2 separate regions of the Homo sapiens genome follow, and region 2 is linked to region 1. Evidence: promoter capture Hi-C in 16 types of primary human blood cells and fetal thymus (Javierre and others, 2016). All regions are on one chromosome and are shown on one strand. Each heading gives the region's core, a stretch centred on a gene start or on the middle of the fragment in contact. The rest is flanking DNA. Distances are from core to core; before and after follow the strand shown.

Evidence for each region. Contacts are between HindIII fragments. The CHiCAGO score rates a contact against its expected background, and 5 or more counts as called.
Region 2: a contact is called between a fragment that was not itself captured here and the fragment with the promoter of SH3TC2 in region 1, in 1 of 17 cell types (total B cells). The highest score is 5.2, in total B cells.

What each region holds. Positions count from the first base shown.
Region 1 is chr5:149,060,049-149,067,161 of GRCh38, forward strand. SH3TC2 (SH3 domain and tetratricopeptide repeats 2) reads right to left here and starts at 3,014. Exons shown (of 17, transcript NM_024577.4): 1 at 2,923-3,014. The coding sequence starts at 2,974. MIR584 (microRNA 584) reads right to left here and starts at 2,361; the gene lies at 2,265-2,361. It overlaps SH3TC2-DT (SH3TC2 divergent transcript), which reads left to right and starts at 3,269. Exons shown (of 3, transcript NR_122044.1): 1 at 3,269-3,626; 2 at 4,202-4,310. RefSeq lists a silencer at 2,978-3,272. The HindIII fragment of the contact is 16,687 bases long and covers 1-6,436 here.
Region 2 is chr5:148,440,935-148,448,047 of GRCh38, forward strand. FBXO38 (F-box protein 38) reads left to right here. Exons shown (of 22, transcript NM_205836.3): 21 at 190-303; 22 at 1,035-1,902. The coding sequence ends at 1,213. Among named protein-coding and RNA genes, the nearest start is that of FBXO38, 61 kb to the left of the region's middle. The HindIII fragment of the contact is 3,098 bases long and covers 2,516-5,613 here.

The DNA of each region.
Region 1 (7,113 bases), core at 1,764-4,263:
TCTCCTGTTATTATACTGATGATTCACATTTATCAAAAAGGTTGAAAGGAAAGTTACAAGCACCAGTGATCAACAGAGGCGAATGTATCTCTTCCACATCTTCTATTTAAGGGCATAAATCTGCCAAATTTCTTCAAACAGGCATTGAAAATAAGGGTGAAGTGCTAGAAGTTTTTTGATCAACAAACTTTGACATGGCTTTCTCTGTGATCCAAAGTGAGCAACTGTAGCTTATTAAGCAATGGCAAGAAACAACTCATAGATAGGGTGGGGAAGTCAGAGATGATAGCAACTGATCAGAACCTATCCTCTCACCATGTGCAGTCCCCCCTGATTAGGGGAGTTCTGTGAGCAGTTGAGAGCCATCCCAGGGAACAGATGCTGCAGGCAGAGTCCACATGTAAGAATGCAGGTGCCTGGAGTAGTCAGAGTCAACGTTCATTATTGTGTCACTCCACACAAACTAGTCTGGCAGCTGTCCAGTGCTCAGTGCTATCAAGAGCCTTCTCCTTTCCTGTGTCCATTAGCCCTGAGGACTCACTGTTTTGGTGTCTGCTGTTAACTCTCACTTAAACAGACACAAGGCAGAAGCACCCCAGGAAACATAAGTACAGACTTCTCCAGACCAGTAAGGAATTAGGAGGAAGTGATGTAGGAGTGGCCCATATTAACTAACGATAAAACAGCCTGTAGTTACTGAAGGGTTATCAAAAGCCAGACCTTGTGCTAAGTCCATGAGAGGAATTATTAAATTTAATCCTCACAAAAGTTCCATGGGATAAGTACCACCATTAGATACAGTTTACAGCCAGGAAAACTGAGGTTCAAAAAACATGAGGGACTTGCCCAAGGTCACACAACTATTAAGTTGCTCCAGGATGGGTCTCATACTTTGTTCCTTTTCTCTAGGATAAATAGGGGAATCTGGAATGGGAATATCCAGATCGACTGGACTTGGACCTACAACACCAATATCAACCTCGCTAGGGAAAGGCCCTGACACATACAGGGAATAATATGGGGGAATGGCATGAAAAGTCTCGAGGGAGATACATAGCAGGCTAACTCTTGGTGAAAAGGTGAATGCGGGGTGCCAGCCAGTAATCAATGGCAAAAAGAAGGTGAAAGAATAAAGTAATTGAATGATAGTGTTATTATGATTTTGACCTTTTTCAATATTTTGTTTGTTTGTTTGTTTGTTTTCAGCTGCGTAACTCTGTTCTACAGGAAATCTTTGGCTGAAGGACGATGTCAACTAGAAGCAGAGCCGCTCTAGGTAGGAATGAGGGAACATGAGCAGAGCTCTCTGAGGCACCTCTACACAGCAGTTTACAACCCTAAAATTGTATATATGATTAAATGGAGGCCCAGGGAGAGCGCGAGTTATACTGGGGTCATCAAAATGGAATTAACAATGGTGAATTTTATTGTGCTCAACTAACTGTGCACCAGACTGTTTCACCATTTCACATGTAGACTTAATCTCCACCACAGCTCTATGAAGAAGACATAATCATGTCATAAAAGCTACAGATAAGGAAACTGAAACACAGAGAAGTTAAATAAGTTGTCGAGGCAAGTAAAAGAACCAAGATAAAATCCAGACACTTTGGCCTCAAAGACCAAGTGAGTAGCCAAGATGACAACTGCATAACTAGAGCTAGAGGAAGTCAGATCTAGAACCCCGATCTCCGACCAGTGGTCCTGCACGTCTCCCTCCATGCTGTTTCTACTCTCATGGGGCACAATGACAATAGGACTTAGGGGGAGGGACTGAAAAGTGTTTACATCTGAGAAATCTGGAGAAGCGAAATTGTTCATAGCTAAAGTCGTGCCTTTTGTGCCAAGGGCATCATTTGGGGGGACACTCCCTGCTGTAGGTGCCAAGGTGCCTAGATCAAGACTTCAAGCAGAGGAAGCAGAATATGGTTGTTTTGGGTTCACTTTAATGACCTCAAGTGCCTTCTACAAGCCCAAGTCATAAGACTAAAGAAGAAAGTTGTCTGTCAGAGAGTAGAAAGCCCTCAGCTAGGGGATGCTCCTTAGCTCCTTCTCTCAGGAACCATGGTGGAGCTCCAGGAAGACACAGAGTTCTAACAAGGGTTAGGAATGATTCCTTGGAGCAATGTTCCCCTATCTCCCAAGCAAGCCTCCCCCCACCAATCTAACCCCACATTTCCCCAAAGCCACCACTCATCCTGATAAACACCACACAAGAGAACACAGGGCCCTACCTTGATTCTCCTCTGAAAAAAAGCAAGAAGGTTGCTTCAGGGAGACCAACCAGCCTGGTTGGCCTGGAACTGACATATCCCAGCAAATTCCTCAGTCCCAGGCAAACCATAATGGCTGGTCACCCTAAGTCACTCTCCCATGAGTTGACAATTTCTTAGAGCAACAACTCTCCATTGCCTCAACTTGATGCACACACTCACACATGCACTCACACACAAATCACTCTGTAATAGGTGGAGGCAGGAAACTGCCTGTTTTTCTCCAGTAACAGCAACCCTGACAAAAATAGGCTTGAATGACTAAGGCCAAGTTTATGGCCACCCATAGGCCACAGAGGAACTCACTGCCTGAACTTTCTTCCTGTCCTGGGGGGATCTCGGGAAGAAAGGAAGGAAGGGCTTAGTCACACCCTGGGAGTGGCAGCCAGGAGCAGTGCTGCTCAGCTCCTGACAGAGTAAACTCAAAGGCTCTTTCTTCAGGAAAAAATAGATGCTTCCAGGCTTTGCTCCCTTTTTACAGAGCCAGCATGACAAACACTTACCCAGGGAGGAAGGAGAGGCAGCCAGAAAGCACAATCATCTCCCCATCTTTGGGAGAAAAGTTTCTCCAACCCAGCAGGTCCCTGAGCCTCTACTGGACCATCCACTTTGGCCAAGCCACAGGCCAAGGGCCCCCTGGGAAACTCACCTGGGCCCCGGGTCAGACTCCGCTCCCTGGGGATGCAGAAGCAGCCACCCATGTGTGTACCATCCTACCCTGGCCGAGGCCCTTGGGAACACAGGCCAGAAGAGTGCTGCAAGGGACAGCCTCCCAACGGTGTCCCTCCTCCCGCCTCCTCCCTGGCACACGAGGGACCGAGGCCTGCTCAATGCACAATGCAGCCTTTGATATCCCGGCTACAGCAGGAGGCCCAGGGAGGGTGGGAGGGGCAGCCCAGCCCAGCCTGCAGGCCCACAGCTCCTGCACTGTCAGGCCTGGGGAACAGGGCTCCTCCCTGCCTCTCAGCAGATCGCTTCATGCCTATCAGCCTGCAGCACATTCCTCGCATTCTAGGATTGAGATACACAGTTTGGTTCTTGTGAGGGCAGCCAGGGCTGGGGAGGAGGGCAGAGAACATCCCAGAGATCAAGACTGCTCTTCTTGCTCCCTCCCCGACTGACTTGGCCCACACTGACTGGCCTGCCACCCCTTTACAGTGATCTCCACCCAGTCTCTCTCTGCAAAGGCCTCCCTTGGCTCTCTGATAAAGTTGGAGCTGTGGGTGCAGCATTTCACTTGGACCTAGCAGCATCAATGAGCCAGCTCCTCACTGGGGAACATGCAAACCCCCAGCTGCTGGTGTGCAGGAAAAGAATCCAGGAGATCACCTGATGAAGCCCAGCATTTTACAGGTGAGGGGATGGAGAACCAAATACATCAAAGGATGGGGAGAGGTTGGTCAATAGGTAAAAGGTTAGAGTTACATAGGAGGAGTAAGTTCTAGTGTTCTATTGCACAGTAGGGGGACTACAGTTAATAACGTATTGTATATTTCAACATAGAAGAGAGGATTTTGAATGTTCTCACCACAAAAAAACAATGATGTTTGAGATGATGGATATGATAATTACCTTGATTTGTTCATTACACAATACATAGATATATTGAAACATCACATTCTAGCCCATAAATGTGTAGAATTATTATGTGTCAATTAAAAATAAAACTAAAAGAAAAAATACAGCAAGTCTACAGGTATGCAAGCAAAACTGGTCCCACAAGACTAACCTCTTTCCTGTTTCAGATAGGCAGTGGAGCAGGGGAATCCAGTTGACACTGTGGCTAAATTTCAGAAAACCTCCCATGAGATCTTGCAAAGGAGATGGAGAAAATATGGCTGAATGCCAGCAAGGTAGGACGGAAGCATGACTGCTCTAACAACCAAGCTCAAAGAGCACTGCTCACCCAATGTTTCCTTCATGACTAGAGCAAAGTGGTGAAAGGACCCTGGTGAGAGGCCCAAAGAACAGGAGGTGTGAGCCAAGAGAAGGTCCTGCCAGGCCTATGTTGCAGGCTATTTGGAGGCTGAACTTGAGGTCAGTATCACCAGCATTTTTAGGACGGCAGTGGCCTGATCAAGTTTATATTCTGAGAGGAGCACTTGGGTGACCAGGTGAAGAATGGCCTAGGGGTCAGTCCCACCAGAGATCAGGAGTATCCACCTCACACACCAGCCTAGCCCCAGAGGACAGGGTCTTGAGCCTGTCTCTGAAGCACTGCTCCCGTCTCCATCCTGACTCATCCTGAGACACAGTTACTGAATGTTTACTGTGGGCCAGGCTCTCACTGTACATTATTCTATTCAAATCCCATAACAGCCCCATAATGTAGGCATCATTTCTACTTTGTAAGTGAGGAAACGGATAAAGAGGAGTGTATAACTTGTCCAACTCCCTCCCTTCTCCCACCATTTATGAATGTCAGAGTCAAGACTGAGCAAGGTCTAGTTGATTCCACAGCCCAGAAGAATCACGTTTCTGATACATGGGATACATTGTGGGTTCTCCCATGACTACTAGGACACACAATGAGAAAGGCCTAGGAAGGACTGAAACCTCTGGAGCCAGCTAACCATTTACACAAAGCCCAGGAGATGAGAGCTGGGGCAGGGAGTAGAGCGCAGGAGGGATGGGGTCTCTCTGATCACATTGCCACCGGGGAGGATGTTTTCTCTGTGCAGGTCTATTTAAAGTATCTACTTCCCATACGTTTCTCATGTGTTTCCCTTACTGAAGTACAGTGTTTTTGAATATGAATTCAAATGTTTTCTTGGGCCCACAATGAAAGGACAAGAGTTTCTTTAGAAAACAGCCACTTAAAACTGGGATGTACTTGAAAGTCAGGCAGTGACAAGAAGCCCCATGCTCTAACTTACACACGCTGACAGATGCGCAGACTTATCATTGCTCCTTGGCTGGTCTGCACACCAACCACTCTTACACAGGTACAACAACAATCAGACTATAAATGATCAAAATCAACTATTGAAAGGATCCCAGGCCATGTGTCAGAGATGACACCCTAGGCAGTTGGCTAACACACACATTGCAGCAGGTCTTAAATGAATAGTCCATTCTGGATAAAGTCATTGCTTCCCTTGAGATGCAAGAAACTGTGCTGTTCTGCTCCTGGGTAGCCTGATGAATTGACTAGAGCAAAGAGACTTCCAGCAGGAGCAAAGGCCCTGAAGTAGGAACTTGCTTAGCATGTTAAAGGAAGTGTGGCTGAAGGCTAGTGAGGTAGGTGAGGGCACAGAGATGAAGTCAGAGAAAGCAGCAGGAGACCAAACAGTGTAGGGCCTTAGAGGTCATCTAAGGACTCCAGTTTTTACTCTGAATGAGGTAAGAGCCAATGGAGGACACTAAAGAGAAGAGTAACATGCATGACTTACGGTTTTAAAGGGTCAGCCTGGCTCATGGGCTATAGATGGAACTCCAGATATGCAGCAATTGTAACATCCAGCAGAGAGATGATAATGTCTTGAACCAAAGTGCTATTGGTAGAGGTGATGAAAAGGGTTTAGGTATTAGACACATTTTGAAATAAGGGTGTATTAGTCAAGGTACTCCAGAGAAACAGGACCAATAAAAGTTGAGAAAAAAAAAAATTAACAAATTGGCTCCTGTGAGGGTTGGCAAATCTGAAATCCATAGGGCAGGCCAGCAGTCTGGAGACTCAAGTAAGAGTTGCTATTGCAGTCTTTAGTCAAAATTCCACAGAGCAGCAGACTAGAGACTCATATAAGTTTCCCATGTTGCAGTCAAGAATTCTTGAGAAGAATTTCTTCTTTTTCAGGAAACTTCAGTCTTCAGTCTTAAGGCCTTCAACTGATTGGAAGGCCCCCAGTCAGCTAGTGGGAAGACCCATGCACATTAGAGAGGGTAATCTGCTTTGTTCACTGTCTACTGATGTCAATGTTAATTATCTTTAAAAAAAAATACCTTCAACATCTATTTTGTTCTTTGGTCAAACAACTGGCCACCATAACCTAGCCAAGAGAACACATGAAATTAACCATCACAGAGACCCATGAGGATGTGTTGATACATTGAATGTATGAGAGGAAAAAAAAAAATCTACTTTAGAGTAGTTCTGATTTTTTTTATCTGAACAACTGAAATAATTTAATAATTATTGAAATGTTAAATGCTAGGAGAAAAGAAGCTTTGTGAATTGAAACCAGGAGTTTGGTTTTGTATATGTAATATTTAATAGTCCTTTAGTATATCCAAGCAAATGTAGACAAAGCAATCTGGAGTTCATGGAGAAGTTAAAAGCTGAAGGTAAGTATTTGGGAGTTGTCACTGTGTAGAGGGTATGTAAAGTTAGAAGACCAAGCAAGATCTCTTAAGGCAGAAAGTGGAGGATAGAATACAGAGGATATATCAAGAATGAGCCCTACAAGCACATTAATTTTTATATGAATAAGAAAGGAGTAGAAACCAGCAAAAGCGATAGAGAAATAGTGGCCAGTGAGACGATATGCACCAAGAGCATAAGATGGTACAGAATTCAAGTGAAGAAAGTGTTTCAAGAGCAGAAGGTGATTAACTATGTCAAATGCTGCTAATAAGTAAGATGTGCACAGAGAATTTACCACTGGACATCTTGGTGGAGCAGTGGAGATAAAAGCTAGATTGAGAAAGCTTCAAGAGTATACGGTAAAAAAAAAAAAAAAGTGGAGCTCCAACCCACCTTCAACTCACCACCATCACCATCATTGCCATCATTATGGAATACCTGTTATTCCCTTAATATTTGTTTGGTGTTCAGGGGTTACAAGCTCATATGGCTACAAGAGCCACGCAGCTGATAGAAATGAGTGAACTGGCCAGGAGA
Region 2 (7,113 bases), core at 2,815-5,314, 620 kb before region 1:
CAATCAGAACCAGTGATGAAACATAAAACGTAAACAGAAATTACAAATTAGTTTGATAGCTGGAAATGATTTGAGGACACCTGACTCACTCTCTTTATTTTATATTTTACATTCTGCTTACAAAATACTGCAGAATTTGGCTCTGTCAGCACTCCCACGCCAGTTAGCAATGTTACATTTGTCTTTTAGGTGTTGTGGATGGAGCTCCATATTCCATGATTTCTGACTTCCCTTGGCTGAGGTCATTACGAGCTGCAGAGCCCAACAGCTTCGCTCGATACGACTTTGAAGACGATGAAGAAAGTAATTATGACCTGACTTGACATCTATTCTCTAGTTTAAGTATAGCCTACTGTGTTACATACTTAATATCTTTTTGTGAGTTAGGAGCAGTGCAGTGTTAAATGGTTTCCCATAGAAATAATTTGTATTTACTCACTTCAAAACAGTTCTTTATTTGTGCAGTAGATGTTCAGTGGACTTACTAGGGATATATAAAGGCTGGTAGAAAGGATTCCTTTAGACAGATTTTCCTACAAGATTTTTATATTACCTAAATATTTATAATCTTATTTATTAAATAACTTCAACTATATTGTTTCAAAATTGTTCCAATTGTATTATTCTCCTGCTAGTTATGAGCTGCTTATTGTGTGGAAACTTATAATTTAGGTGTAGAAATTAGGGGAGAAATTTTTGAATGTAGTTTCTCTAAGTGGTAGCATACTTGAATATTTATTGTTAACCAAAGGTTTTTTAAAAATACTTTATAAGGAAATGGATTTTATGAACTACATGTGCATGTGTCTGACTTGCCTTTGGTGCAGTATTTTTACCTTGAGACTTTAAGCATGTATTCTGTCTTAGGCATCAAACATAAGAACAAACTGGTGGTGACCCATTCCTTGACCTATTCATGCATCAGTTACATTATAGTGCAGTATATGGGACTGTCCTATGGACCAGCTTATCAGTGATTTTCCAAATGATTCTGATTATCATATGTATCTCTCCTTTTATTTCTAATTTCAAAGGCACTATCTATGCTCCTAGAAGGAAAGGACAGCTGTCTGCAGACATCTGTATGGAAACAATAGGAGAGGAAATTTCAGAGATGCGTCAGATGAAGAAGGGTGTATTTCAGCGAGTAGTGGCAATTTTTATCCACTATTGTGATGTCAATGGAGAGCCAGTTGAAGATGACTACATTTAATTGGTCCCTCCTCCTTTCCAGCTATTTTGTCAGAAAGCAAGTAGGGCCATCCAGCTGCCAGAGTGCTCCACAGGGACTTGAGGCATGCAGTTGGGAGGTCCTGGCTCGGTTTGCTATATAGGGAATATATAAGGAACATCGAAATTGTATACAAAGATTTGTACATAAAAAATATACAAAGACGCTTCCTAAAGTACCAACTTTATATCATATGTTTATACAATTTAATTTAAAAATTCATTTTAAGGAAGACAGATAATTTGAAAGACTTTTGTTTTTCTTGACTTAATTCATGAAGTATCATTTTTTGACTGAGTCTCCATTTACTTCATTCTTAATGATTATTGTCATCCCTTTAAATCTGTGCCTTTTTCTTCTTGAGCGAAGCTGTTTGAGTAAACCTGTTGAAGAGTGTTTGTGTCTTTTGTGCTTTTTTGTTGTTATTAAAACACCAACTAAACCTTATAGTCAAGACAAGGCTCTATGTTTCTGTACAAAGCTGTAGTTCTTTCTTAGTATTATAGTTGCCATGTTTCTTAAAATCAAGTAAAAAGACTTATGAGCTTAAAAAAAAGTGAGTTTGAGAGGGAAATGGAAAAGTTTCCAGAGTATTTCTAGTAATTTATTTCCACATTGAATTGTGTATATGCTTTATCTTGAATATAAAATAAAAGTTTATTAAAAACTTTTCTCTTGCCTTGGACCTGAATCCCTCTTTTTAAAGAAGAGTAGCAAATACTGCACAGAAAAGCAGTGTATATATAGAGTTGTATCTAAGGTAAGATTCCAGTGTAATCCAATTTCTGATCTCTGAAAGTTTTTAGCTACAAGATGTTCAACTCACATAACTTTTTTTGTTTGTTTTTTTTGGTTTGGTTTTTTTTTTGAGATGGAGTTTCACTCTTGTTGCCCAGGCTGGAGTGCAATGGCATGATCTCGGCTCACTGCAACCTCTGCCTCCCAGGTTCGAGTGATGCTCCTGTCTCAGCCTCCGGAGTAGCTGGGATTATAGGCACCCGCCACTATGCCTAGCTAATTTTTGGTATTTTTTAGTAAAGGCAGGGTTTCACCATGTTGGCCAGGCTGGTCTGGAACTCCTGATCTCAGGTGATCTGCCTGCCTCAGCCTCCCAAAGTACTAGGATTACAGGCAGAGCTCTTTAAGGCAATACTGGGAACAGCAGAATTTTCCAAACTTCTTGTCATCAGGAGATGGCCTTTCTCCCCTTTCAAGGTGAGGAATTAATTGCCCTGATAAGGCAGTGATATACATAGTATTACAGTGTCAAGGGTCGTCAGCAAAAGCTTTAACACCTGCAGAGTCATGGCTTTGTCACTTGCCAGCCAAGTGACCTCAGCAAATTACTTAAACTGAAGGCCTGTGGAACATTTTTATAAATTTTCTCTAGACATGAAATTATGGTCAAAGGTGTAAAGTTTCTTTGAGATTTGTTCAGCCCCTTCATTTACAAGGGCTTAATTGAAGCCCAAGGGGGAAAATTGCTCACTCATAATTAGGACCTGTTTTTAGGCTAGGTAGGACAATAATCCCAATTTCTGATTCCCACTAGGCTGCCTCTGTTTTTCGTGACAGAAATACAAGGATGCCAGCAAGTTTTTCTAACACAAAATATTCCGCGTTAATCAGTGTCTTTCCTTAACGTTCTCTTTTTTTCCCAGGCTCTAAAAATTCTCATTACATTAGGAAGAGTGATTCAATTGGGTACTTCATTCTATTGTCTCCTTATTACATTATTTTTAACTCAGCTAACTTATAATTAGACAAGTGTGTTTCACTATACAGATTACAAGTGTGGTAAGAGGCAGGAAATACAGAATATCCTAGATATTTCAAAGTAATCTGGGATTCCCAACCCTGAGCGAAGACAATCTAACTCTAGGTTTTCACTGTAACCTGTTAACCAAATTATCTAAGTAATGCTTACATTAGCCACAAGAGGCCGCTGCTTTGTAATTTTTGGCTTAGTCATGTCTTTGTCTAACCTAACCTAAACTGTTAGATCAGTGGAAGTACAGCTGGCAGCGCTAAAATCATTCAAAAGTTGCTAAGACTGGAATAGCTGAAAAAAAATCTGGAAGATGCCAACTACGATAGTCACTCTGAATATATATATAATACGAAGGGCTGGAGAGTGATTGCTCTACAGCAAGGGTCAGCAAACTATATAGGTCCAAATGGTAAATATTTTAGGCTCAATGGGCCACATTCTCTGTGGCAACTGCACAACTATTGTGAAAGTCATAGACGATATAAACGAATGGGCATGGCTGTGTTGCAATAAAACTTTATGGACACAAATTTCAATTTCATGTAATTTTCACGTCACAAAATAAAACTTTTTCCACAGCCATTTACTAAAGTAAAACACCATCCTGAAGGCTCATAGACCAGATTTGGCCTCCAGGCCACGGTTTGGCCACACCTGCCATAGAGAACTGAGATATCCTATTCATTCATTTAATTATATCACCAGCTGTTGGTGCAGTGCAGTGCCTGGCACATTTTTTAAAGGCCTTAAAAATACTGCATGGATGATATATAACTTAATATCAGTGAGAGAATTGTGTCTCATTGCCAGGTGTGTAGGTCTAACAGTCTCCCTAAATAATAGCTAGTACCACAATTCTTACAGGGACTTCATATGTAGAATCTGAAGACCTGAGTTCAGTTTTTGACTTCCTCAAACAACTGATGGGAGAGCTGGAGATGGTTGGAACCCCTACCCTTCAGCCTCAGTTTTCTTTTCTGTCAAATGGTAACAACTAATAATATAACCACCCACCCCATAGGGCAGTGGTTAGTTTCCAATAGGAGCCGCCAGTAAACTGGACAGTGTGATGCCAGTGGAGGTAGTATTGCTTCCAGTATAATTTCTTTTATTATCAAAAGAAGTTTGGGTGTTGCCCAGGCTGGAGTGCAGTGGCACGATCTCAGCTTACTGCAACCTCTGCCTCCTGGTTCAAGCGATTCTCCTGCCTCAGCCTCTCAAGTAGTTGGGATTATAGGCACCCGCCACCATGCCAGGCTAATTTTTGTATTGTTAGTAGAGACGGGGTTTTGCCATGTTGACCAGTCTGGTCTTAGACTCCTGACCTCAGGTGATCCACCCGCTCGGCTTCCCAAAGTGATGGGATTACAAGCGTGAGCCACCGCGCCCAGCCAAGTTTGGTTTTGTTTGTTTTTTGTGGCGGGGGGGGCGGGGGGCGGGTGCTGTGTGGGGTTTTTTTGGACTCATCTTTCCATAACCTGTTCCTCATACCATATTCCAGGATAGTAGGAAACAGAACTGGTGAGGCTGTTGAGAAAGAGGAAATCATGACAGTATGAAAGCTAGCATTTTTAAAAGTGATCATTACTAAGTGCTTTCCATACCTCCTGCAATAACACTTTAAATGTATGATCAATATGTTCCTACTTTACTGGTGAGAAAACTCGGTTTTAGAAGGTTACATAACTTGCTCAAAAGCACACATCTAGGAATTGATGGGAGCAGGATGCTGTCAAAGGATGACATCCTGCAGGATGAGTCCAAAGCCTGTGCAACTTGGGCAGTTTCTTGGTCCTTCATAATGAGAGGAGGCCCATATAAGGGTGGGCCTGCCCTAATAGGGAACCTGCCAAGTCAACTTACTGCTGCCACTTAAATTGAAACCACTCCAGCTATGTTTAGCACAGTCCCAGAAAAACAGAGGCTGATTTTCTGATGCGGGAGATGTCCCATTTACACATGGGAGGCAGGTAGAATGCAAAAGAACACTGCAATCCATACAATGTCTATAGCAAGAAATGGATACGCAGCAGCTAAAAAAAACTATATGTGTTAATGTGAAATGATGTTTAGAGTACACTGTTGAAAACGCAAGTAGCAGATTATTATATACCAACATCATTTTATTTACATATAAGAAAAAAAGCCATATGTTATACATGTACATTTATACATATGTAAATGCATAGAAAATTACATTTGAATTACATAAGCCAAGTGAAAAAAGCATTTACTTCTGGGGAGGGGGGTAGCATTGAGTTGGAGTCAAGGGGTATTTTCTTGTATGTATTAATATATATAACAAATTTTTACAGTGGAAATGGATTGCATAAATACATCATTTATGTAACCTATTATTTATATAGTCTAAAAATGTATAATTTATATATTTAGAAATAAAATAAACTTAAGAAGGAAGCACTTTGTTAGAATTGAGAAATCTGAATGTTTTCAGTCCTCTGACTTCAGCCTCATATCAGCTCTTGTTCTTGGACAAATCACTTTCCCTGACAAAGTCTTTCCTCTTCTGTAAAATGAAGTCAACAATCCCTCTTTATATACTGTTATGAGAGACTTAGAGATCTTATAAAAGTGCAGAGAAACTGCACAAAGCTTGCAATGGTAGGCTGATGCTTAATGAGACCAATGGGAGCATATCCAAATAGTGTTCCAGGTTCCGACCAAGAAATATGGGGAAGGCAAACTGCCTTTTTCAGGGGCCACTCCTACTATGAGCAGCCTCTCTGATGGCCTGGAATATAAAGGACCAATGCTTTCTTTGACTCACATCTTGTTCTCACAGTCTATTGCTGGTTATTCAGTAATCCCAGGTTGCTGAATACTAGACAGACTATAAAAGATCAGTGCAGAGGGCCTTTCCTGTTGATCAATAATTTACCAGAGTCTTCCATGGTTTAAAGATGGAAGTTGAGGCTCAGGGAGAGGAAGCAAGAGCAAAGGAAAACAAGAAAGCAAATGAGTGGCAGAGTTCAAACTGGAATAGGCATTCCAGAGTTCCTCTTCGGGTCCCAGGCTGATGTGGAAAGGAAAATTCTTAAGCAACATTGTTCATTGCTCTCTCCTAGCAGTGTCTAACAGGTGAAGGTGGAATACATACATCCCCATAATGACCACAGTTGCACATGCTTAGGACTGTGGGCCTCATTTAGAATAAGACTGCCTGGGTTTGCATTTCAAATCCACACTTCCCAGGTCTGCTACCTTGAGCTAGTCGCCAGATGTCTTAGCTGAGGTTTGCTCAGCTGTAAAGTGGGGGTAATTTTCATTCTAATCTTGTAAGGATTTCATAAGGATTAAATGAAATAGTTCATATAAAGCACTGACCACAATGCCTAGCAGAAAAAAAAAACTCATTAAATGTCAGTTTCTCTTATTGCTATTTTATTATTATTTTTATTAACAAAGATATAGATCTGGGGCAAACTGAAAGAAAAGGTAAAGAAGGAGAAACCTAATCTGAATCCACTGTAACAGTAGTTAAAAATGTATGCAGTTTCTTATCCCTTCTCTCCATGTTTCCAAAAGTGTAGAATGCAGCTTGTAGCTAAATCACAATAACTCCTAAAGCTTGGAAGCTTCTCTTTTGTAAATTCTCTTTTGACCCTCCCAATTAACTGAAAGAGCCCCAAGCAAGAGGTAGGGCATTTCTAACAACTCTCCAACATTCACTTGTCTCCCTTTTAAACACAGAAACAGAGGTTGCACTTTGATCACTGGCATCTAGTTAAAACTCATTAGCCTTTTTTTCTATTTTGAGTACTGATATAATGTTCCCTTCAAAAATAAATTTAGGTAAGTGAAAACTTGAATGGACTTAAATAAGGATATTAAATAGGTAACAGAACAGGCAGAACACATTTGATAAAAATCCTAACAGTGGCCCTCAGATGACCCATGTTGGAGCACTTACAACAATCGTACAAACTCAGAAATTATCTCTATTTTGTAGATGAGACAGGTGAAGTTAAGTGTTGGGTAAGGCCCAAAGCAATGCGTTGTTCATACTTAGGACTTCAAATCCATTCCTGAATTGTTTGACTTCAAACCAAATATTCAGCCTCAGTTTTCTAAATTAGATGGAAAAGAGATT